Linked DNA regions of Homo sapiens: all the other regions are linked to region 3. The links are contacts of gene promoters, found by promoter capture Hi-C in blood cells and fetal thymus (Javierre and others, 2016). All regions are on one chromosome and are shown on one strand. The core of a region is centred on a gene start or on the middle of the fragment in contact, and the rest is flanking DNA. Distances in the headings are between cores, read along the strand shown. Region 1 has its middle 30 kb from the start of NNMT. Region 2 has its middle 41 kb from the start of NNMT. Region 3 holds the start of USP28 (ubiquitin specific peptidase 28). Region 4 has its middle 22 kb from the start of NNMT. Region 5 overlaps ZBTB16 (zinc finger and BTB domain containing 16). Region 6 has its middle 11 kb from the start of NNMT. Region 7 overlaps ZBTB16 (zinc finger and BTB domain containing 16).

Region 1 (3,244 bases), core at 89-2,588, 390 kb before region 3:
CTCTCCTAACAAGCTCCAGAGGATGCAAGATAAAGAGGGAACTCTGTGAACAAGTGGGAGGACTGTACAGATGTTCTGCCTAGCTGGGAGAGGCTGGAAAAAGGACTAAAACAAAAGGTACAATTAGCTCATCTGTGAAGTTCCCTTCAGTTGTCACACTAGGGACCCTGTAAGAGGAAACAAGGTCACTGTTGATCTTGTAGCTCCCAGGTGTCTCAGAAAGGTCAGCGATGTCGCCACTCCACTGGCCTAAAGCTGGGTTAACCAGATGACTCTGCTCCATAAGGTCTCTTCAGATCGTTTCCTCCTTTTACTCCTACTACCCAGCCCCATTTCAGGCCCTCATCATCTCATAACTGAATAGATAATAATAATCACCGCTTTCTACAACAAGTTAACAGCATGGGGAAAATGAAACTTAAGAGAAATAACAAATCGATGCAGTATGTGGGTATGATTTGGCTCTTAATTCAAATAAATCAACTTTAAAAAGTTATTTTTGAAGCAATCAGGAAAATCTGAATACAGACTGAGTGAGGATACGGAGGAACCATTCCTAATTTTGGAAAGATATAAATGGCACTGAGGTTAAATGAGAAAAATTCATTTTGAAAAATGCATGAATTGGAGTATGTCGTGGTGAAACAACACGATGTCTGGGATTTTCTTTAAAATATTTCAGCAGAAACAAAAGACAGGAAAAAGAAACGAAAGACAGAAAAGGAACAAAAGACAGAAGAATAGGTGAAGCAAGTGTGGCAGAATCTGGATGATGTTGAATCTGGGTGACGGGCATTATGTGGGGTTGATCATATTATTCTATTTTTATGTATATTAGAAATATATGTAATTCATTAAAAATATTAAAATATTTTTAACAACGAACTAATACGGTGGCTGGCATACAATGAGTATTATGTAGGTATTGGCATTTGTAGTCATAACAATTGTGTGGCAAGCACAGTTCATAACATCAAGGATATGGTGGCAGACAAGGCCCTGGCTCTCACAGGGTCCACATGCAGGAGACTAGGACATGAACCATGACAAGTAAACAAATAAAGAAGATCATATCAAACAGTGGTAAATGCTAGGAAAAACAAACTTGATTTTTATTTATTTGTTTATTTATTTATTTGAGATGGAGTCTCGCTCTGTCACCCAGGCTGGACTGCAGTGACGTGATCTTGGTGAACTGCAACCTCTGCCACCTGGGTTCAAGTGATTCTCTTGCCTCAGCCTCCTGAGTAGCTGGGATTACAGGTGTGCACCACCACGCCCAGCTAATTTTTGTGTTTTTAGTAGAGATGGGGTTTCACCATGTTGGCCAGGCTGGTCTCGAACTCCTGACCTCAGATGATTTGCCTACCTTGGCCTCCCAAAGTGCTGGGATTAAAAGTGTGAGCCACCGTGCCCAGCTGAAAACAAACTATAGATGGGATGGTTTCTCAGTCTATTTTCTCTTGTTATAACTAAATATCATTTTTCAAAGAATAAAAGTTTATTCAGCTCATGGTTTTGGAGGCTAGGAAGTCCAAGGGCATGGCACCAGCCATCTGGTGTGGGCCTTTATGCCGTCTCATCACATGGTGAAAGAATTGCATGGCAAGACAGAGCAAGCAAGCCAGAGAGAGCTTGTTTTTCTAACAAAGCCACTATCAAGGTAAGAAACCTACTCCCATGATAATATTAATCCATTCAAGAGGGCAGAGGAATTAAGTTTCCAACACATAAACTTCTGGGGGACACATTCAAACCATAGCAGATGGTCAGGTAAGACCCCACTGAGAGGCAATATTTGAGCTAAGACCCAAATTATATGTGAAGGAGGCAGCCATGCAAAGATATGGGGTGGGACTGGGGGTGGGGGTGGGCAAGGAGCTCTTGGCAGTGGGAACAGCACATGCAAAGGCCTGTCCTGTTCTGGAAACAAATGAATCACAGTGAGGCTGGGTATAGAGGTGGGAAAAGAGTGGAAGAAGACGGTCAGAAAGGTAGACAGTGGCAGGTTTATTTAGAGCCTTTGCTGGCAGAAGAAGAGCAAGATAGCTAGTTAGAAAGAGCCCTGTGATAGGCATAAGTAAAACATTTAGGAAAACTCTTGAGTGCAACTACTTAAAAGGTAGACTAAGCCAAGTATATACTAAGCCTATAGCTCTAAGGGAAACAGCGAGGTGGGGTGGGGGACATAATATTAGTACGTGTTGATTGCTCCTCAGCGTTTGTAGCAAGATATTACTATGAAGAGATGTGTTCAGGTAATAACTGACAATTTCCCGAGAAGAAATGAATGTAAGTAGGAGGAAAATCCAAAAATTTGGGTTTTCTTGGATATAGGAAAGCTACCTGCTTCTGGACCCTAAATTACAGGAATGAAACTGGAAAAGGCTTCAAGCATTAAAGGCTCATTATTAAAAATTCTCTTACAAAGAGACTCAGTACTGTGACAAACATCAGATTAAAGGTGTTGCTTTTCCCACCCAAGCTGACTCGCAGATGACCCCAAGGTAACCACCAGGAAGTTGACAAGGAGACTTGGCGGTGCAGAATAATAATAATAATAATAACAGATTGGACAACTAAGTTGAGGAAAGAACTTTAATCATGGTTAATGGGTTACTGGCGTAAGAAATCGATTGGAAGCAAATACAGCCAAAGGCTATTTTCGGAGAAATTGAATTGCCAAAAGTCCATGAACCTGGCCTGATAATGTCTTTGACTCTCAAAGCTTAAAACCACACTCAGTCTCCCAGATTTGCACAAGCAGGAATTGGGCTGGTCCTGAAAGCCACACTGTCCCAAGGCAGACTCAATCCCAGGACTCACTTCAAACGTGGCCAGGGAACAGTTAAGGAATAATCTCCCAGAGGTACACTCTAAAAGCAACAGAAATAGATGAGACATCAGGGTGGGGGAGAATGTAGCTAGACAAAGTAAAAGCATCAAGGAACTTTTCAGAGACTGTCTAATATCCAGAGCTCCAGCAGAAGAAGATGATGGGGTGAGCCAACAAGACTGAGAAGCAGCAGCCAGTGAGGGAAGGGAAACCAGAAGTGTTTCCAAAAGGAGCAAGTCAGTTATGTAGAAAGCTGTTGGGAGATCAAGGAAGATAAAGCCAGCTGTGATATTGTGAAATATATATTTGGTCTTCGTCCCTGTCTCTTGGCGCACAACTCCTAAAATCCTTGAAATCTTCAAAGTGATTTTATGTTAAAAAGTGCCTTTTCATATGCGAATGAGTTTA
Region 2 (3,050 bases), core at 277-2,776, 460 kb before region 3:
TAGGATTTTGATTTTGATTGCATTGAATCTATAGATCAAGTTGTGAAGAACTAATATCTTGACTAATACTGAGTTTTTCTATCTATGAACATGGAATATTTCTCTATTTATTTAGTTTTTCATTGGTTTCTTTCATCAGTTTTATGGCCTTCCTTATATAGACCATGTACAGGTTTTGTTAGATTTATACCCAAGTATTTTATTTTGAGGCACTGTTAATATAAATGACAATTTCTTTTTAATATCAAATTCCACTTGTTCATTGTTGCTATGCAGAAAAATGATTGACTTTTGTATATTAACCTTGCATCCTGAAACCTTGTTATAATTGTTTATTAGTTCCAGGAGCTTTTTTTCTTGATTTTTCAGATTTTCTTTCTTTTTTTATTTTGAGATGGAGTCTCGCTCTGTCGTCCAGGCTGGAGTGCAGTGGTGTGATCTCGGCTCACTGCAACCTCCGCCTCCTGGGTTCAAGCAATTCTCCTGCCTCAGCCTCTTGAGTAGCTGGGATTACAGGCACACGCCACCACACCTGGCTAATTTTTGTATTTTTAGTAGAGATGGGGTTTCACCATGTTGGTAAGGCTGGCCTTGAACTCCTGACCTTGTGATCCACCCGCCTCGGCCTCCCAAAGTGCTGGGATTACAGGCGTGAGCTACCACACCTGGCCTGATTCTTTCAGATTTTCTTTTAGACAATCATGTCTTTTGTGAACAAGATAGTTTTATTTCTTCCTTCTCAGTCAGTATACATTTTCTTTACTTATCTCATTGCATTAGCTAGGATTTCTAGCATAATGTTGAAAAGCTGTGGTGAGAGAGTATGTGTTTGCCTTGTTCCTGATCTTAATGAGAAAGCTTCTAATTTCTCACCATTAAATATGACGTTATCTGTATATTTTTTGTAGATATTCTTTATCAAGTTGAGGAAGTTCCCCCTCTATTTCTCATTTACTGAGGAGTTTTTTTTTTCTTTTTCTTTTTCTTTTATCATGAGCAAGTGTTAGATTTTGTCAAAGGTTTTTTCTACATCTATTGATGTAATCATCTGTATTTTGTTCTTTAGCCTGTTGATATGATGGATAGCCTTAATTAGTTGTCAAATGTTGAAACAGCCTTTCATTCCTGGGATAAATCCCCCTTGGTGTGGCACACAATTCTTTTTATACTTTGATGGATTCAATTTGTTAACATTTTGTTGAGAATTTTTGCATCTATGTTCATGAGAGATACTGAACTGTGGATTTTTTTTTTTTTTTTTTGGAGACAGAGTCTCTCTGGAGTACAGTGACGTGATCTTGGCTCACTGCAATCTCTGCCTCCCAGGTTCAAGCGATTCTCCTGTCTCAGCCTCCTGAGTAGTAGCTGGGATCACAGGCATGCACCACCACACCCGGCTAATTTTTGTATTTTTAGTAGAGACAGGGTTTTGCCATATTGGCCAGGCTGGTCTCGAACTCCTGACCTCAGGTGATCCTCCCGCTTCGGCCTCCCAAAGTGCTGGGATTACAGGCGTGAGCCACTGCACCCAGCCAAGATATATTGAACTGCGGATTTATTTTCTTCCAATGTGTTTGCCTGGTTTTGGTATGAAGGTGATGTTGACTTCATAGAATGAGTTAGGAAGTATTCCTTGTGCTTCTATCTTTGAAAGAGGTTGTAGAAAATCGGTGTGCTTTTTTCCTTAAACGTTTGGTAGAATTCACCAGCGAACCCATTTTGACCTGATGCTTTCTGCTTTAGGAGGCTATTAATTATTGATTCATTTTCAGTTGAATAGATATACCCTTATTCAGTGTGTATTACTTCTTATGTGAGTTTTGGCAGATTGCGTCTTTCAAGAAATTGGTCTATTTTAGCTAGGTTATCAAATTTGTAAGCATAAAGTTGTTCACAGTATTCCTTTATTATCCTTTTAATGTACATGACTTTTGTAATGATGTCCCCTCTTTCATCTCTGATATTACTAATTTATGTTCTTCCTCTCTCTCTTTTTTCTAAGTTAGCCTGGCTATGGGCTTATTAATTTTATTGATCTTTTCAAAGAACCAGCTTTTGGTTTTATTGATTTTTCTCTGTTAATTTTCTGTTTCAATTTCATTGATTTCTGCTCTAATTTTTATTGTTTCTCTTCTTCTGTTCAGTATAGATTTAGTTCGCTCTTGTTTTTCCAGTTTCCGAAGATGAAAGCTTAGGTGATTTCTTTTAAATCTTTCCTATTTTCTAATATATGCACTCCATGCTATCAATTTCCCCCTTAGCACTACTTTTATTGCACTGCACAGTTTTTGATAACTTGTGTTATTTTCATTTAGTTCAAAGTACTTTTTAATTTCTCCTGAGATTTCTGCTTTGACCCTTGTATTATTTAGACACATGTTGTATTTGTATCTCCAAGTATTGGGGGATTTTTCAGCTATCCTTCTATTATAAATTTCTAGTTTAATTCCATTGTGGTCTGAGAGCAGACACTACGATTTCTACTTTTTTTTTACATTTGTTAAGGTATATGAAGTGGTCTAGAATGTGGTCTATCTTGATGAATATTCCATGTGAGCTTGAGAAGAATGTACAGTGAATTCTGCTATTGCTGGATGAACTAGTTTATAGCTGTCCATTATTTACAGTTTATAGATGATGTTTTTGAATTTGATTATGTTCTTAATGATTTTCTGCCTGCTGAATCTGTCCATTTCTGATAGAGGGATGTTGAACTCTCCCACTATACTAGTGGACTCATCTATTTCTCCTCACAGTTCTATCAGTTTTTGCTTCATGTATTTTGATGCTGTGTTATTAGGTGCACACACATTAAGGATTGCTATGTCTTCTTAGAGAACTGACCCCTTTATCATTCGGCAATGCTCCTCTTTATCCCTAATAACTTTACTTGCTGTGAAGTGTTCTGTGTCTGAAATTGTTCTAGTTTCTTCCACTTTCTTTTGATTAGTTTTAGCATAGTATACCTTTCTCCATCCATTTACTTTCAATTGATATGAGTCTTTATATTTAAAGGAGGTTTCTTATAGACAACCTGTAACTGAGTCTTG
Region 3 (3,216 bases), core at 27-2,526:
GCGACAACAATGCCAGGAGTATAGGAAAGGCCACCGTCCATGTTAAATTCACACTTAAAAGTGTAGCTTGAGAGTCAGACCAGACCAGGGCAAGGGTGTAGGTGCTACTCTTAAAAGACGCGCTTCCACACTCAGCCTCTACGCAGATTTGGGACACCCAGCAGCCTGTCAAGTGGGTTTGCCATCATAACACATTTGTATCTTAAATGTGAAACATGGTTCAGTAATCACAATTCCCACACAGTTGTTGAAAATACAATTCAGGCCTGGCGCGGTGGCTCACGCCTATAATCCCAGCATTATGGAAGGCCGAGACGGGCGGATCACCTGAGGTCAGGAATTCGAGGCCAGCCTGGGCAACATGGTGAAACCCTGGGTGTGGTACAGCGTGCCTGTAATCCCAGCTACTCAGGAGAATCGCTTGAACCCAGGAGGCGGAAGTTGCAGTGAGCCGAGACCGTGCGGCTGCACTCCAGCTTGAGGGGACAGAGTGAGACTCCGTCTCAAAAAAAAAGAAAAAAAAAAAAACAAACCGAAACCAACCAAACAAAAAACAATTCAATAGGAGCACCTGGTCTTTTAACATGAAATCGTAAATATCTGGCTCAAACGTAACAAAGTAACACAAAATTTTAGTTTGAACTTCTGAAAATCGAAAATGGAAAAACTGCAATTTTCCTTATCATGCCCAGGTTAAGAGCATCAGGGTTAAGGGCACCAAGCGGGACACCCATGAACGGAGGCTTTGGTCCGTTTGGTTAGCTTTAGACAAGCGACTGCATTCATCCTCCTTCTCTCCTTAAAGATGGTGAACACTTCTTCATGTCATTGGAGTTGGAAATGGCTACAAAGCCTGATGGGAAATCCTTTATTCCACGGTCATTCGGCAGTTTCCCACGGCGGGGGAACAGTTTTAACTCGCCCGTGGGGAGGGTGGAGCCGGAGGTCAGTCCTACAAATGAGGTTTTGAGGGCAGAGAGCGGAGAAGACTCAGGAACGCGGCTCCCAGGATTCGCAAACCCAGTTCCCGGACACTGGCAGCGCGGCCCGCAGCCTCCACCGGCTGTGAAGCTGACCAACAGCGACAGGCGGGGCCGGGATCACGTGACCGACGTCTGGTCAGCCGGGCGTGCGCGGGAGCACGCAGAACTGTTCGGCCCCGGGCCGCGCGCCTTGCGTGCGCGCGCATGCCGGGGGCGGGGCATGTGGGCCAAGCCTCCGGCGCGCGCTGCGGGCGGGGGCGGGACGGAGCGGGGTGGAGGGCGGGGGCGGGGCCTAGTCCTGAGAGGCTGGGCCGGCGGCGGCTGCGGCGGGAGACCGGTGACCCGCGGCTGGGCGCCTCGGCCATGACTGCGGAGCTGCAGCAGGACGACGCGGCCGGCGCGGCAGACGGCCACGGCTCGGTGGGCTCCGCGGCGGCGAGCGGGAGCTGGGGGCGGGCTCCAGGCCCTGAGGGGAGCGTGCGGGGCCTGCAGGGCTGCGGGTTGCGGGCTGCGGAGGGCGCCCCGGCCGGGCGGGACAGGGGGTGCGCCCGCCAGCGTGGGTGAGAAGGCCAAGGGCTCTGCGGGGCTCGGGCCGCGGAGATTGAGGACTGCATCTTCGCGTCCGTGGGCGAGCTGAAGTTGTAGGGGGATTTCCAGATTTTGGAAAACCAAATATAAAGGGCTGGACGTGGGGTTCTCCGCCGCAGGGATCAGTAAGGTGAGCCCTCCTGGGCCCCGTCCGGGGTGAGAAACTTCCGAAAGCGGCAGCGTTGGTTGGTTTTGTTTTGCTTTGACTTTTAAATCAGTTTTATGGCGGCGTTTTTAAAAGGTTAAAGCAGACCGAAGTTATCTCACTTAAAGTCCGGAATTAATCACCGTCTTCTATAAGACCAGGGGTCCCAGTTACCACCACTTCCCTCCCTCCCAACCCGGCTTTAAAAACAAAACAGCGCAGCCTCCCCAATTATTGCCTTCATCGCTCTAGATTTTTAAGGAGGGGGAGGAGCTGCGTGATGAATAGAAAGTCTACTGATGATGATCTCCTGTTCCCAATGTCTAAGAAGATTGAAATCAATATAAGGACTTCTGATCTAAGAATCTGGTGAGAGTGAAAGAACCCTGGTTTGAGAGAAAAGCTAATGTCTGTATGAAGAAACTTGGGAAGAGGGCAATTTGAGCATGTCTTCTAGTGTTACTTCGGAATGTTATAACTTAACACCACCTCCTCACCCCTCAAGTACTGCACTTTTTCAAGAGAAAACGGGAAATCTGTGCCAGTTGTTCAAATACGAGTTTGGAGATGAGAAACTATATTTGTCGTACAAAGCTGGCAGACAGATACCCTCAGGTGAGAATCCTTTTATACCTTTTTACTCTTTTGTCTGGAAGGCCAGTAGTATTTAGCATGGAGACACTTTTTTTTTTTTTTTTTTTTTTTTTTCGACAGAGTCTCCCTCTGTTGCCTAGGCTGGAGTGCTGTGGCGCGATGTCGGCTCACTGCATCCTCCGCCTCACCCTCCTGAGTAGCTGGTATTACAGGTGCTTGCCACCGGCCCGGCTAATTTTTGTATTTTTAGTAGAGTCGGGGTTTCACCATATTGGTCAGGCTGGTCTCAAACTCCCGACTTAAGGTGATTCGCCCGCCTCGGCCTTCCAGAGTGCTGGGATTACAGGCGTGAGCCACCGCGCCCAGTCTGGACGCACTTTTTTTTTTTTTTTTTTTCCAGACGGAGTCTCACTTTGTCGCCCAGGCTGGGGTGCAGTGGCGCGATCTCGGCTCACTGCAACTTCCGTCTCCCGGGTTCAAGCGATTCTCCTGCCTCAGCCTCCCGAGTAGCTGGGACTACAGGCGCGTGCCACCACGCCCAGCTAATTTTTGTATTTTTAGTAGAGATGGGATTTCACTGTGTTGGCCAGGATGGTCTCGGTCTCTTGACCTCATGATCCGCCCGCCTCGGCCTCCCAAAGTGCTGGGATTACAGGCGTGAACCAGGGCGCCCAGCCTGGATGCGCTTTTTAAAACTCATGTAGAAAAAGATACTTCCAGGTCCTGGGCTCCGAAACGAAAGTATCATGCACTGACTTCTAATGGAAATATTGTTAGATGTTCACAAGTGCCTATTGAAATGTGTCAAGATTTTTCTCTGGCTTCAGAGGTCAGTTCTATTTGTTTTTAGCACAGTGATTTAAAAACATGGGAAAATTTTAGTTTGGAGACTATCATATTGATTTA
Region 4 (3,328 bases), core at 744-3,243, 440 kb before region 3:
GAAAACACCTTGAAGGCTTCAAGGAAGTGAAGCCCCAGGGGTGTGGTCTCGACTTGAAGAAGCAAGTGAAATAAGAGATCAGTACAGGAATTCAGGAGGGGAGGCAAACAGCCCAAGAGGAGTGGGCTGGGGACCAGAGAAGGGAGGACAGATGCCAGAGCAACATGGCCAGGGTCAACTGAAGAAGTTGAGTCACTGAGAAATTCCCCATGAGATTAACAGCAAGGATGCCAAGTATTTTAAGTTGATAGGGTCCTAAGCATGAACCCCTTCTGTTGTCTTGAGGCTTTAGCAAAGGCTGCTACTTATATATTTGAGGGCCAGGGGAATTTTAGCAAATGAAGGGATCAGGATGGGTCTGGTTAGGGGTCATGTGCTGCAGAGAAGAATCAGCCCATGCTAGGAGTGAGTGATTCACACACTGGAACACAGACCGAGTGGAAGGTCCACTCCAGGGGTCACCAGGAGAAATACAAATCACTGCCCCCGACAGTTCCCTGCAAGACGAGAGGAAATTATGGGCTGTATGAAGGACGGGGTTTGAGCCAATTTCACTTGAATCTTAAAGGATGGGATTAACCCAAGTGGTCCTTTAGTTAGAACTCTATTTTAACAAGCATTGTTCTCTAATTCATAAATCATAAAACACTGGACTTCACAGATATGTAATTCAACTTTTCAATTTACAGTAGACTAAGGCACAGAAAGGCAAAGCTCCTTGCCCCCTTAGAGTCTCCATATCTTCACCTCTAAAATAAAAGGATTTGATTGGTAATTTTGTAAATGTTAACTCACAAGCAAGATTATAAATTCTGCAAGGGCAAAGGTCATATTAAACAAATGAGGTTTCTTTCTTTTTTTTTTTTTTTAAATATTTTTGTAGAGACGGGTTCTTGCTCTGTTGCCCAGGCTGGTCTCGAACTCCTGGATTCAAGTGATCCTCCTGCCATGGCTTCCCAAAGTGCTGAGCCACTGTGCCTGACCAACGACTGGGATTTCTATAGCATTTAACAAATATTAGACAGCAGTGAGAAGGGGCCAGAAATGGACCCTTGAGAGGTAAAGGAGCAATAAACTAACTGCTTACCCTCCCCTTTCTAGAAACCTCTTTCTCCTCCTCATGCAAATGAAGTGTTTACATACCTGCTCTTAAGAAAAATACCAGTCGCTTAGGTGGAAGGCTTCAAAGTGAGTTGTTATTACTGATGCTTTTTTTTTTTTTCCTTTTGAGACAGAGTCTTGCTCTGTCTCCCAGGCTGGAGTACAGTGGTGTGATCTTGGCTCGCTGCAACCTCCATCTCCTGGGTTCAAGCAGTTTTCCTGCCTCAGCCTCCCAAGTAGCTGGGATAACAGGCATGCACCACCACGCCCAGCTAATTTTTTTGTATTTTTAGTAGAGACAGGGTTTCACCATGTTGGTCAGGCTGGTCTCCAACACCTGACCTCAAATGATCCACCCACCACGGCCTCCCAAAGTGCTGGGATTACACGGGTGAGCCACTGCACCTGGTCGCTATTACAGATCTTTCTGAAGAGCAGCCTAACTGGTGTTTACAATTCTTTAACTCCTCTTCTGTTTAAACATTCAAAAGCTTTTCTCTGAAAGGAAGAGAGACAATAACCTACCAGGAAAGAAACTACTTCCTGGCTTTCAATATTGAAGTCCAAACAAAGGCAATAATAACTCACAATTAGTTGTTGAGAGTTTGAAATTCAACCTCAACCCTTCCCCTGAATTCATCAGACACTATTAAAGTACAAATTAAAGTGATAAGCATAGAGGTTTGGCCGGCAACCACAGCCATAGAAAGACTTCTTCATTTTCTAAATATTAAAAAACTAGGGTTTGAAAAAGCACAAAAACCTTCTTTCTCTTCTTTGAATAAACAGCAAATAGAAGGTGATGGTGAGTTAACTGCATAATCTAATAGTTATCATTTCTCATGCTATTCTGGCCAAGATCCTCTTTACAGTTTATTAAAATTTGCATTTTGTGTATAGACCTAAAAGGGAAATTTTTAAATGTGTGTATCCATAAAAATAATTATCCATATTTTTTGTTAAAGAAAAATATGCTGAATTCCTCTTTCTCTTTTCCTAGCAGCCTCATAAGTAGACTGTGAAAAAGGAGACACTGCAGAGAAGCGTCTTGTTTGGGAAGGTTTAACTCAATTTAAATTCCTTCATGTGTAAATGGTCAAATTCAGGAATGAAGGGCTTCAACAAGAGCCACGTGCACCCTCTGCTGGCGCTCAGAGGGCCAAGGAAAGCGTTTGAAAGGCCAAGGAAAGCATCTCCTTTCAGTGTGAAACTGGCCAGCAAGGGAGACGAGAGGGCTAGACTCAGAAAGTTTAAATCCCTGCTTTCATTGGAAGATATGAAACAGAAAGCTTCAGTGACTTTACTCACAATGGTGTTTTTCTTTGTGATAATGTTCCTTAAACACATAATCCTAGCTCAACATTTTTTTTTGAGTGAAGCTGATCTATACATGAGAAGGTACAGCTGTAAGAAGGGCCTGGTTTGTCTCATTTGGGTGGGCAAAAGGTCCTGCCTAGCTGACTTGAGTACCAAAAAAAAAATCTAGCATTTCTGCTCAGGCTGTGTCAGAGTGCATTTCTTTCTGGTCTTCCTTGCAGGAAAATAAGTCCCACGAGGCCAGAGACTGCGTCATCTTCACTGTAGGATCCTCATCTCAGGCCCAATGCCTAGCACATAACAGGGATGCAAGAAACATCTTCTGAATGAATAAGCAACTATGAAGAAGGCTCTGGATTCAAGGTGCCTATGGTGCTGACTTGCATAGAAAGCATATGCAAGACAGGTTTTGAAGGCCATACTCAGTTCATTAAGAAAGTTTTTTCAGTGTTAAGATTTTTTTTTCTTTCAATTTTAATTTTAGATTCAGGGGATATATGTGCAGGCTTTTTAAATGGATATATCGTGTGATGCTGAGGTTTGGGGTGTGATTGAACCCATCACCCGGGTAGTGATCACAGTACAATAGGTAGTTTTTCAACCTTTGCCCCTCTCCCTCGTCCCCCCTTTTGTAGTCCCCACTGTCTATTGTTCCCATCTTTGTGTCCATGTTGACCCCATGTTTAGCTTCTACTTATACATGAGAACATGTGGTATTTGGCTTTCTGTTTCTGGCTACTGCACTGAGGAGAATGACCTCCAGCTGCATCCATGTTGGTGCAAAGGACATGATTTCATTTTTTATGGCCATATAGTATTCCATGGTATAAATGTACCACATTTCCTTTATCCGATCCACCATTGATAGGTGCCTACTGGATTCCATCTCTTGCTACTGTGAGTAGTGCTG
Region 5 (3,493 bases), core at 59-2,558, 360 kb before region 3:
AGCATCTACTCCCTCTCTGCCCTTAACCCCCACCCCACAGAGAGCCCAAATTAAGCCAGGTGTTCAAACAGCTACCTTAAATCAGTAGGGTTGAGTAGGCTTTGGAGGCCAGCCATGCCCTTTAAGAGCCAAGGCTTCTCCTTATGCATCCTCTGAGATCCCCGGCATGGAAGGAACCTGGGCAGAGGGAACATGAATGGCATTCCCAATAGGACATCTCAGCCTATACAGCCAGACCCACAGGTGCTCTGAGTGTCAATACACCCAGCAAGGCAGACTGCAGCACTCTGCCCCCTTGGCCTTTCCAAGGCCCCTCGATACTGCCCCACTATGCTGTCCCTACTTCTCAGGGTGGCCTGAACCCACTTCATGTCCATTCAGCCAACTCACTGAGCCACTACCAAGTACAGGCACTGTGCTAGGTGACCAGGGGCAGGCTAAGGCTGAGCAGAGAAACTGGGTCCCAGACTAGTGGGAGATGCTGAGTTAACAACCACCCAGAGGGTAAGGCAGGGCGACTCCAAGAGCTCCTGAGATTTTGAGTTAGGCTTTTAAAAGTTGAGTATCTGAGAAGCAAAGGACAAGAAGTTGGGACACATGTGCCAGGCTAAGGAGAGAGACACCACTGGCAAATGTCAGAGCAGATGGGGCCAAGGTCAGGCCCTGGGGATGGAGACAAGCTGGGAGGGTGATGGGAGTCAGATCAGAGGGCTGCATATGCCAGGCAGGACAGGTTGGACTTTATTCTACAGGCAATGCAGTGCCATGAAAGGACCGAGGGTTGCTATGATCCTAATGTCTGGGTCCCCCTCTGATTCCTTTTTTGAAATCCTAACCCCTAAGGTGATGGTATTAGGAAGTGGGGCCTGGGAGAGATAATTAGGTAATTAAAATGGAATGAGTGTCCTTGTAAAAGAGGGCCCAGAGAGCTAGCTAGCCCCTTCCACCACGTGAGGACACCGAGAAATCAGCAGTCTGCAACCAGGAGGAGGACCCTCACCAGAACCTGAACATGCTGGCACCCCAATCACAGACTTCCCAGCCTCCAGAGCTGTGAGAAATGCATGTCTGCTGTGTATAAGCCACCCAGTCCGTGGCAGTTTGTTATAGCAGCCTGACTTGACTAAGACGAGTGGTGCTAGCACGATCTGACCTGTGTTTGAAGCCAGTGACTCTGGGCACACATGGGGACCAACAGCAGCAGCAAGCGGTTAGAAGCAGCGAGAGGGCTGATGGGCCACTGGAGGAGGGTAGGGACCAGACCAGGGCAGAGGCTGCCAGGGCAAAGGGAGAGAGAAAATCCTAGAAAGGTGGGACAGCAAGGGAGGAGTGGCACGCAAAAAATCCCAGATGGCCAGTTCCACAACTGGCCAACAGGCTGGAAGTCATATGGTCACCAGCTGGAAAGGAAACACTATGATGTCCCTACAGTGGTCTCTCTCCCCTTCCTGGGACATTCCACAAGGTGCAGGGGTGCTCCTTGGTCACGTATCCACCAACCAAGGCTCCCAGGGGAAGAAAGGGGAGCCTCTGAGACTCAGCATCCACTTTCCCCATTTTTCTGCTTAGAAACTAACAGCTATGATGATAGAAAAGTATTTTTAAAAAAATGGAAAAGTGGGGGAGATGTGGATGAGACACAAGAAAAGCTATTGGTGCATGCGAGTTAAAAATCTAGAGACTAGATGTGAGTTATTAAACAATTTGCTGGCGTTTCAGCCTAGCTGATTGTTCGCATGTATGATGAGTCAGGGCAGATTCTATTACACTGGGAGATTAAGCAAATAAATGCTAGCTTTTGGAAACACATTAAAATGTGGGACTATGGAAATAAAATTATCTAGAAAATTGTATTAGCAATTCATTAGCTGCAGTGAGATGTGCGGCGGGGCAGGGGGGCCCGGCAGCACTGGAACGCTCTGCTCCCTTCAACGCCTGGGTTCCGTCCTCTGCTATGGAGAGACGTCAGGCCTGGTACCACTGGGGAGAGGGGAGGTGCTCTGACTGGATAAACGAGACCCTCAGAAGTCAGATGGTCCACATGACACAGGGGAAGGAAAAGCAGCACAGGGGTCCCAGCTCTCCCACATACTTGCCTTGTGGCCCCGAGCAAGTCATTCTTTTCACCAGATCCATTTGCTCCTTATCTGCCACTGTGGTTATCAAGAACATCGAATGAGATATCCACACGAAAAAACTTTATAATGTGGTCACAGAGCCAATGATGGCCAAACAACACCTTCATCTGAATTAGAAAATCACGTCTCCTCCTCTGGCCAGCCCCACAGACCTGGCTGCATATTTATGGTGAGTACAGAGAGGGCAGGGTTTTGGGATCTTCCCTCCTCAGCTGGGCACCCTTGTGCAGTGAACGACCTGGATCATGAGTCATGGCAGCCCTGCACAATACACATGCCTAAGCTGTTTTGTTGTCTTTGGGCTGCTACTTTCTGGGAAGCTGACCCTAGAGAAGGCATCTTTGAGGAGTTACACCACTTAGGATTCAGTGCCAACAACACCATCTTCCTCTGAGCTCTGTTGTATCACGTAAAGCCCTGTATTGCATTTATTTTGGACTTTCAGCTCTGCCTAATAGATTATAAGCCTCCAAAGTAGGAACTATTGTATTCATCTTTATATTCCCCAACACACAGTACACAGCCTGATATGGAGTAGGCACTTAATAACTGCATGTTGAATTAGAAAATAAATAAGGGGTTGTAAGACAATCACAAAGGGTAGAGGAGGAGGTATGAGGAGAGTCATGGTACAGACAGAGGGCTAGGGATGAGGAAAGTTCAGACTACAGTCCACAAATGAAACCACTACTAAGAGCATCCAACAAGACTCTCCTTGGAAATCAGTAATGACAAGTGACCCACAGGCAGCGGATCTCACTGAGGCCCCCCGTGTCTGTCTGGTGGGCTGGACAGGACTCCTTCGTTGTCACTCCATGTCTGAGCTCTGTTGCTCGGAAGCAAAAACCCAGACCATAGAAGGATCAGTTTTGCCATATTATACAGTGAAACAGTCCAAAGATCCCAATTCTGGCCCAGAGGTACAGCCCTTCTTGGATTTGTGATCCTAGTCCAGGCAGTGGTTGTCCTTAACCTTGGTTTCTTCATCTAGGATAAGAGAATTCATAACTAACCTGCCCTTTCCAACCCTAACTTCATAGCCCTGTTATGATGCAACTGACAAATGTTTTTGATTATGTAAATCCTAAAAATGTATTGTTTTCTATCAATCTGTACATTTCAATGTAAATCAGATATATAAGTCAGCTTTGACCCAAGAAAATAATTTTTCAGGTCAAGGAATTAGCACCTCTGCTGTTCTGAAGAATGAATGGGACTCAGTCTTAGCCTGGACTCCCAGGGTATCTGCTCAAAGGGAATCTGAAGTAGGAAAAGGGGATGCATGTAGAAAGGATGATGCTATCGAGACTCAAGGAACATGACTCTTAGTAATATGGGCAGGATCCATGCAAATA
Region 6 (3,297 bases), core at 128-2,627, 410 kb before region 3:
CAGCCATCAAACTGGCAAAAATCACATCTGACCAGCACCAAAGGCCTTGACCAATAGATGTCCTTGTGTATTTCTAGCAGGCATGTAACTTGGTGCAGCGTTATGGAAAACAGTCTGGCATTGACTGGTAGAGTTGAGTTGCTGCGTACCCTATGCCCAGTAATTACAGTCCAGGTACACACCTAGAGAAAAATCTGGCACATAAACATGAATGTTCTTAGCAGCATTGTTTGGAACAGCCCCCAACTAGAAACAACCTAAAAGTCCAACAATGGTAGAATAAATTGGAGTGTACAGCAATGAAAATGAACCAATTAGAACTACAAGCATCAGCATGGATGATTCTCCAAATGATGTAGGGCGAAAGAAGAAAGTCCCAAGAAAGACTTCCTTTTTATTCAATCTATAAAGTCCAAAAGTCCAAAACAAACAAAAGTAAATTTTATTATTTAGTGATGCACAAGTGGGTGGGAAAACTAAAGAAAAACAATGAGATAATTTCATTAGATGCCAGGATAGTGGTTGCCTGTGGGTGACTGGGGAGGACAAAGTTGTGCTCAGGTTACAGAACACAGGGGGAAGAGGGTGCTTCAAAAATCCTGCAATGCTAACCAGTGCTCATGCATTTTATATTAACCTTTATGCTCTATGTAAATGTTCTATGAACTTTTCTGTAGATGCATCTCACAATTTAAAAAACATCCTGCATATCCAGACGCAGAGTCCCTCGAAACAAGCACAAATTTAGAGATCAAGTCTACTTGATAATATTGGTCTTCCCAAGTTTCCTCTCTGAGGCAGGACCTAGTGTTTCTTTTTCACTCAATTTTACCCAGTGGGGCTAAATGGTACTCAATGGTACTAAAGGATAAACAACGATCTCTGCAAAAATGGGGCAAGGATGGAGGAGAACATTACAGAAACTGCAGCTGAAGCTTTCCTTCCAAGCTTTTCTTTCCAATGCTGGAAGAAGTCCTTCTGTGCCTCAGATGACATCAAGGCCTACTGTAGATCAGAGGGCCCCAGGATGCTTCAGAGATGACACAGACTTCTGTAGGCAGTGATCTCTCATTTGACACTCCTTGCCTTCTGCTTATCTCCAAGAAAGAAATGTACCCCTGGGTACGCCACAGCAATTAGGAGCCTGCTCCCTTCACCTCTTCCTGCTGCAATTGTGGGTGGGGTATTCACATATGTTGCAGAGAAGCAACTACTGAGCCTCTTCCTCTTTCTCTGCTCAAACCATACCTTGTGGCAGGCGTGAGTCGCCAGGAAAGAATTCCAAGGCAGAGCCAAATTAAGCAACTCCTGGAGTAAGAGGCATCAGTAATTTGGGAGCATTTCATGTGCTTGGTAATTAATAACAAATAAACAAAATTATCACCAAAACTATAACCCATCAAATTTGATGTGCTCCCGCAGGGCCTGCTCTAGATTTTAGTGGATGCATATGGTGAGTCCAGAGCTGATTAATATGAGCCTTAATTGCAGGGAGGTAGAGAACCCTTTCTTGGAGTCCACAACCTGTCAGCTTCTCTCTTTTGTCACTCTTAAGTCATGGCTACCTTTGGGGTAAAAATGAGGCTGCAGACCATAAGGGCGTCACTGTATGTACGCAGAGGGCTGCCTTCTGCCTGGTTCTCACAGTGTGCCCTCTCGTAGAGCTTTGGGTTGAAAATCCATAGCCACAAAGACACTGATTCAGCCAGAAACTCTAGTTATCTAATTATCTGGTTATCAATACTCCAGCGTCTCAAATATTTTCACTGGCTTCTAAATCCATTGTTCAGGTTACAGAAAGCTTTGAGAAGGATGCCAAGGAGGGAGGGAGAGGAAGGGTGTAAGGTGGCAAGCTTCTTGGCTAAAGGAAGAAGAAGCGTGATGGGAGAAAAGACATGTTGGGGCCAGGCACAGTCGCTCACACCTGTAATCCCAGCACTTTTGGAGGTTGAGGTGGGCGGATCAGGAGTTCAAGACCAGCCTCGCCAACATGATGAAACTGTCTCTACTGAAAATACAAAAATTAGCCCGTCATGGTGGTATGCACCTGTAATCCCAGCTACTTGGGAGGCTGAGGCAGGAGAATCACTTGAACCCAGAAGGTGGAGGTTGCAGTTAGCAGAGACTACACCACTGCACCCCAGCCTGGGTGACAGAGCAATACTCTGCTCAAAAAAAAAAAAAAAAAAAAAAAAGATGGCCGGGTGCAGTGGCTCACGCCTGTCATCTCAGCACTTTGGGAGGCCAAGGTGGGCATATCACAAGGTCAGGAGATCGAGACCATCCTGGCTAACACGGTGAAACCCCGTCTCTACTAAAAATACAAAAATCAGTCGGGTGTGGTGGCACATGCCTGTAGTCCCAGCTACTTGGGAGGCTGAGGCAGGAGAATTGCTTGAACCCAGGAGGCGGAGGTTGCAGTGAGCCAAGATAGCACCACTGCACTCCAGCCTGGACAAGACTCCATCTCAAGAAAAACAACAGCAACAAAAAACAAAAACAAACAAACAAAAAAAACCATGTTGGGGTGAAGGTGGTTGAGGACTACTTGGAAAGGAAAGCAATTCCTGAGCCTCAGCCAGGACCAGTTTCCATAGTCCAGCCACGAGGTGTCCAGGCCTGACCTACCCCTCCTATACAGTTTGTAAATTGCAGGCAGATGGCATCCAGGGTGATAGGGCCTTTGGCAGAGCCAGGTACCAGCAGTGTTGCTGTGGCAGGTGGCCAGCTTGCTGGAGATCCACATCTGCCTGGCACAGAGAGGCTGGAAATCAGGGTGGAGCCTCCCTAATATCCTGCTGGCAAAAGCTGAAAACCTGAGTGGCTTCTGTGCTATCTGCACTATTTTGCTTTGTTTCCTTTCCTCCTCGGCTTGTTGCTCCTTTGTCACATGCTTACTTACAAAACTTACTGGGACCTGATTTAGGGCTATCTGCTCTGTTCCATTGATTTTTCTTTGCTTCCTACTAATTACTGTAACGGTACGATACCTATTTAGGACATCTGTCCTATCACTACTAATGCTATACAAATATCAAGATTATGAAGTTCACTCTTCTCCCTCTGTTTATTACCTATGTAAAAAGCAAATCGTTTTATGTTCAGGGTAAAAGATGTTAGGACTAAGATTGGATCTTGTAATTCTCTTCTTCCTTTATTGTTTTGTTTAGTTTAGTTTTTGAAAAAGCATGAGGTCAGGTGGTTAAAAGAAAATGCTTATTAAATTGAAAAAAAAGCAACAAAGGCAGAATATAAGCTTTTTTAAAAATTGAGGATAGACGTAATAACCTCATGGAA
Region 7 (3,206 bases), core at 166-2,665, 330 kb before region 3:
ATGCAAGTCGCAAAAAGACCTCCTTTGTCTCTGCCCTCTTCTTATCTGCTGTCTCCTGGGGGCAAGTTATCTTCGGATGCGGGCACCTGCACAAGTGGTTGGTTCTCAAATCCCATTGAATGAATGAGATTTACAAGGGAATTACACAGTTTGGGGAATCTCTTCCTTCTGAAACTTTCTACTCTAGAGGTTATGGATCTGGAATGGTTTGCCTGTGGAATCTGTCTCATTGACCCATTCGGATGACGCCGAATCAAAAACCTTAAGATACCTTTCTTCCTAACTTCTGCCCACCACCTAACACTGAATACTTAATTACTGAATACTTAATCACTGAATGGACCAGTCTGTTTCCCTCATTATTTTCTCTATCATTCCAAACAATAGTGGTTAACTTGCTCTTGTACAGCATTTGTGGTGGTGGTACGTGCAGGGAGAAAGCAAGGTAGGTGCAAGATAAAAGAAGCCAACGGAAGAAAAGGGCCCAGAAAAGCTGGGATGGGAGGCTGTGCAGAGGGCACAGACTGGGGTGCATTGGCATTGCAGGGCACCCTGAAGCCAGAGCCCATGACAGGAAACCACAGCAAGAGGAAACATCACAATGACATCACCTTACATCTGAATCATGCTTTACTGCTTGCAAAGACCCTACCCTGTTCTAAGACCATTTTGGTCCTCACATCCCTTTTTGAGGTATAAAGGGCAGGTATGGTGTCCTAATTTTTCAGACAAGGAATCTGAGACTTGCAAAGGATGAGTGACTCTTCCAAGGTCCTTCACCTGGCAAGTGAAGAGCAAAAATCTGAAGCCAGACAAGAACAGATTCTTCATTCCTGCTTCTAATCAGGAAGCTCCCTTTTCTGTTTTTGATTAATCATGCAATAAGCATTTATTGAATGATTATTTGAACTAACACAGTAGAAAGGCCCAAGTCCCCAAGGTGGTTCAATCTTCACCCTAACTCGTGCAGTGGCAAGATAGCTAAGGGCAAGTGGTGTACATCTATGGTGCTGGAGACCAGAAGGAGGGTCAACTGTGAAAAGGGTGTCATAGAGAAGACAAATGAGCTGAGAAGACTCTATTAATACCAGGCAGGCAAGGCCAGGCGTGGTGGTTCACACCCGTAATCCCAACACTTTGGGAGGCCGAAGTGGGTGGATCACCTGAGGTCAGGAGTTCGGGACAAGCCGGGCCAACAGAGTGAAACTCCATCTCTAATAAAAATACAAAAATTAGCTGGGCATGGTGGCACACGCCTGTAATCCCAGCACTTTGGGAGGCCAAGGCAGGAGGATCACTTGAGGTCAGGAGTTCGAGACCAGCCTGGTCAACATAGTGAAACCCTGTCTCTACTAAAAATACAAAAATTATCTGGGTGTGGTGTCGCATGCCTGTAATCCCAGCTACTCAGGAGGCCGAGGCAGGAGAATCGCTTGAACCCAGGAGGCGGAGGTTGCAGTGAGCTGAGATCTTGCCACTGCACTACAGCCTGGGTGACAAAGTGAAACTCTGCCTCAATATGTGTGTGTGTGTGTGTGTGTGTGTGTGTGTGTGTGTTGTGTGTGTGTATCAGGCAAACAAGACACATGAGAGTGTGGGGGTTAGTGGAAGATGCATGGAGGAGAAAAACAGCCAGGAGAGTCTGGGAAATTCTAAGTGGCTCAGTGTACACGCATCATAGGGGGTGACAAAAGATGAGGCCTGTGACTCTGATTGTGAGGAACCTTCTGGGCCACGCAGCAGAGTCTAATCTTATCCCATCTGGAAATTCAAAACCCTGGTTATCCATAGGAATCTCCTGGGGAGCTTGAAAATACATCCATGTCTGAGCCCCATGCAGGAGGTTCTGACTCATCCGGGTTGAGGTGGGAACCTTTGCTTGCTATTAATACATTTTTTTCATAAAGTTCCTCTAAATGATTTCACTGTGTAGCTGGGGTAAGACAATGATGATGCTTTGAAGGATAAGAGAGAGAGACGCAAGAGCAGGTATGGGTGTTAAGATGGCAGAGACATCCTTACCTAGGATGTAACACATGAGGCCAAGCACCAAAACTTGGGCTGCAGCCATCAACTCTGCATCCACCCTCCATTGCCACCTTTGTCTTACAGGAATGAGGCAGTCGTTCAAAAACAGAGCATGCCGCCATCCTGGGGTCTTATGTGATAAACCTCTCACTAGGGTCCTTTCCCAGTGTCACTTGCCTTCAGACCAACAAGCTGCAGCTGTCAAACCAAGGGCACCTGAGAGATCAGACAGAGAAGTAACATGGGGGAAATGCTGTGTGCAGAAGCCATAGGTGTCTAGCCACAGCAGACTGGATTTTGGGCAGACAAAGGGATGGGGAACCTAAAAACATCACTCCTCAATTCTTAGTGCAGGTATATCACATCCAATTGCCTTGTTTTATTACTTATCTTTTTAGATATGTATGTTTTCCTCCCTAGCAATAGTTAGCTTTCTGAAAGCGGGCTGAGCCCTAATTTTTCTATTTTGTAAAAATGTACAGAATGCTTAGAACAGCACAGCTAGCAGGCAAAGTGAGGTTTGAGGAACTCCAGGCCATCAGCATCAGGCTTGCTATGGGGGCTCCTCAGGCCCATACAGAGCCCTGGTGCAGACCCTGACTCACAGACGGCCAAGGAGGGCTGCCTGGGGGCAGAATCTCCTACTCTGGGGATTTCCAGGAAAGGGAAAGAGGAGCTTTTCTGGAGATGGCACAGAGTTGTGGGTAGAGGGACAGAAGCAGTGGTCTAAGACCAGGGATTCCTGGGTTCTAGCCCACAGTGTCTCTCTCTAGCCTGCTGTGTGATCCCAGACAAATCCCAGAACCCCTCTGAAGCTCAGCATCATGCTCCCTAAAGCCCCTTGCAACAGTTCTGCAGTCTAGGAGTCTACAGATTTTAGAATTCTAGGACCCCTAATTAGTGTCTCCCGATGTGAAAACACCCCAACACTGGGCTCAGTATATGTAAATGGCAATTCCAGACTCTACTTTTGAAAGGTTGGCGATATGGCACCATGACTTGGTACTAGATGAGACAAGTCCTCTTTCTGAGTAGCAGCCAGGCTCCCTCTTGACATCCAGGAGCTTAAGATTTGGGGCCCAGTGGGTGTCCCAGAACAAGGAATCTAAGCTAGGGAGCCAGATGAGGTCAGTGGCCAAGACCTTGCCCTCTAGACCACTTGTCTGGAGACAGGGGAT

Evidence for each region. Contacts are between HindIII fragments. The CHiCAGO score rates a contact against its expected background, and 5 or more counts as called.
Region 1: a contact is called between a fragment that was not itself captured here and the fragment with the promoter of USP28 in region 3, in 16 of 17 cell types (total B cells, naive B cells, total CD8 T cells and 13 more). The highest score is 17.2, in total B cells.
Region 2: a fragment that was not itself captured here is called in contact with the fragment with the promoter of USP28 in region 3 in 2 of 17 cell types (total CD4 T cells and naive CD4 T cells); the score reaches 5.3 in total CD4 T cells.
Region 4: a fragment that was not itself captured here is called in contact with the fragment with the promoter of USP28 in region 3 in 1 of 17 cell types (naive CD4 T cells); the score reaches 5.0 in naive CD4 T cells.
Region 5: a fragment that was not itself captured here is called in contact with the fragment with the promoter of USP28 in region 3 in 8 of 17 cell types (naive B cells, neutrophils, total CD8 T cells and 5 more); the score reaches 8.6 in naive B cells.
Region 6: a fragment that was not itself captured here is called in contact with the fragment with the promoter of USP28 in region 3 in 5 of 17 cell types (total B cells, naive B cells, activated CD4 T cells and 2 more); the score reaches 7.7 in total B cells.
Region 7: a fragment that was not itself captured here is called in contact with the fragment with the promoter of USP28 in region 3 in 7 of 17 cell types (naive B cells, total B cells, naive CD8 T cells and 4 more); the score reaches 8.2 in naive B cells.

What each region holds. Positions count from the first base shown.
Region 1 is chr11:114,265,159-114,268,402 of GRCh38, reverse strand. It overlaps a transcript of NNMT not described here. Among named protein-coding and RNA genes, the nearest start is that of NNMT, 30 kb to the left of the region's middle. The HindIII fragment of the contact is 2,784 bases long and covers 1-2,730 here.
Region 2 is chr11:114,335,530-114,338,579 of GRCh38, reverse strand. No RefSeq gene overlaps it. Among named protein-coding and RNA genes, the nearest start is that of NNMT, 41 kb to the right of the region's middle. The HindIII fragment of the contact is 1,332 bases long and covers 861-2,192 here.
Region 3 is chr11:113,873,632-113,876,847 of GRCh38, reverse strand. It overlaps USP28 (ubiquitin specific peptidase 28), which reads left to right and starts at 1,276. Exons shown (of 26, transcript NM_001346252.4): 1 at 1,276-1,403. The coding sequence starts at 1,347. RefSeq lists enhancers at 56-717, 768-1,017, 1,007-1,301, 2,888-3,216 and silencers at 1,038-1,197, 1,218-1,577. The HindIII fragment of the contact is 13,869 bases long and covers 1-3,216 here.
Region 4 is chr11:114,316,848-114,320,175 of GRCh38, reverse strand. No RefSeq gene overlaps it. Among named protein-coding and RNA genes, the nearest start is that of NNMT, 22 kb to the right of the region's middle. The HindIII fragment of the contact is 798 bases long and covers 1,595-2,392 here.
Region 5 is chr11:114,235,944-114,239,436 of GRCh38, reverse strand. All of the region lies in intron 4 of ZBTB16 (zinc finger and BTB domain containing 16), which reads right to left. Among named protein-coding and RNA genes, the nearest start is that of NNMT, 59 kb to the left of the region's middle. The HindIII fragment of the contact is 4,626 bases long and covers 1-3,493 here.
Region 6 is chr11:114,283,663-114,286,959 of GRCh38, reverse strand. It overlaps a transcript of NNMT not described here. Among named protein-coding and RNA genes, the nearest start is that of NNMT, 11 kb to the left of the region's middle. The HindIII fragment of the contact is 853 bases long and covers 951-1,803 here.
Region 7 is chr11:114,205,942-114,209,147 of GRCh38, reverse strand. The region is part of intron 4 of ZBTB16 (zinc finger and BTB domain containing 16); the gene reads right to left. Among named protein-coding and RNA genes, the nearest start is that of NNMT, 89 kb to the left of the region's middle. The HindIII fragment of the contact is 4,104 bases long and covers 1-3,206 here.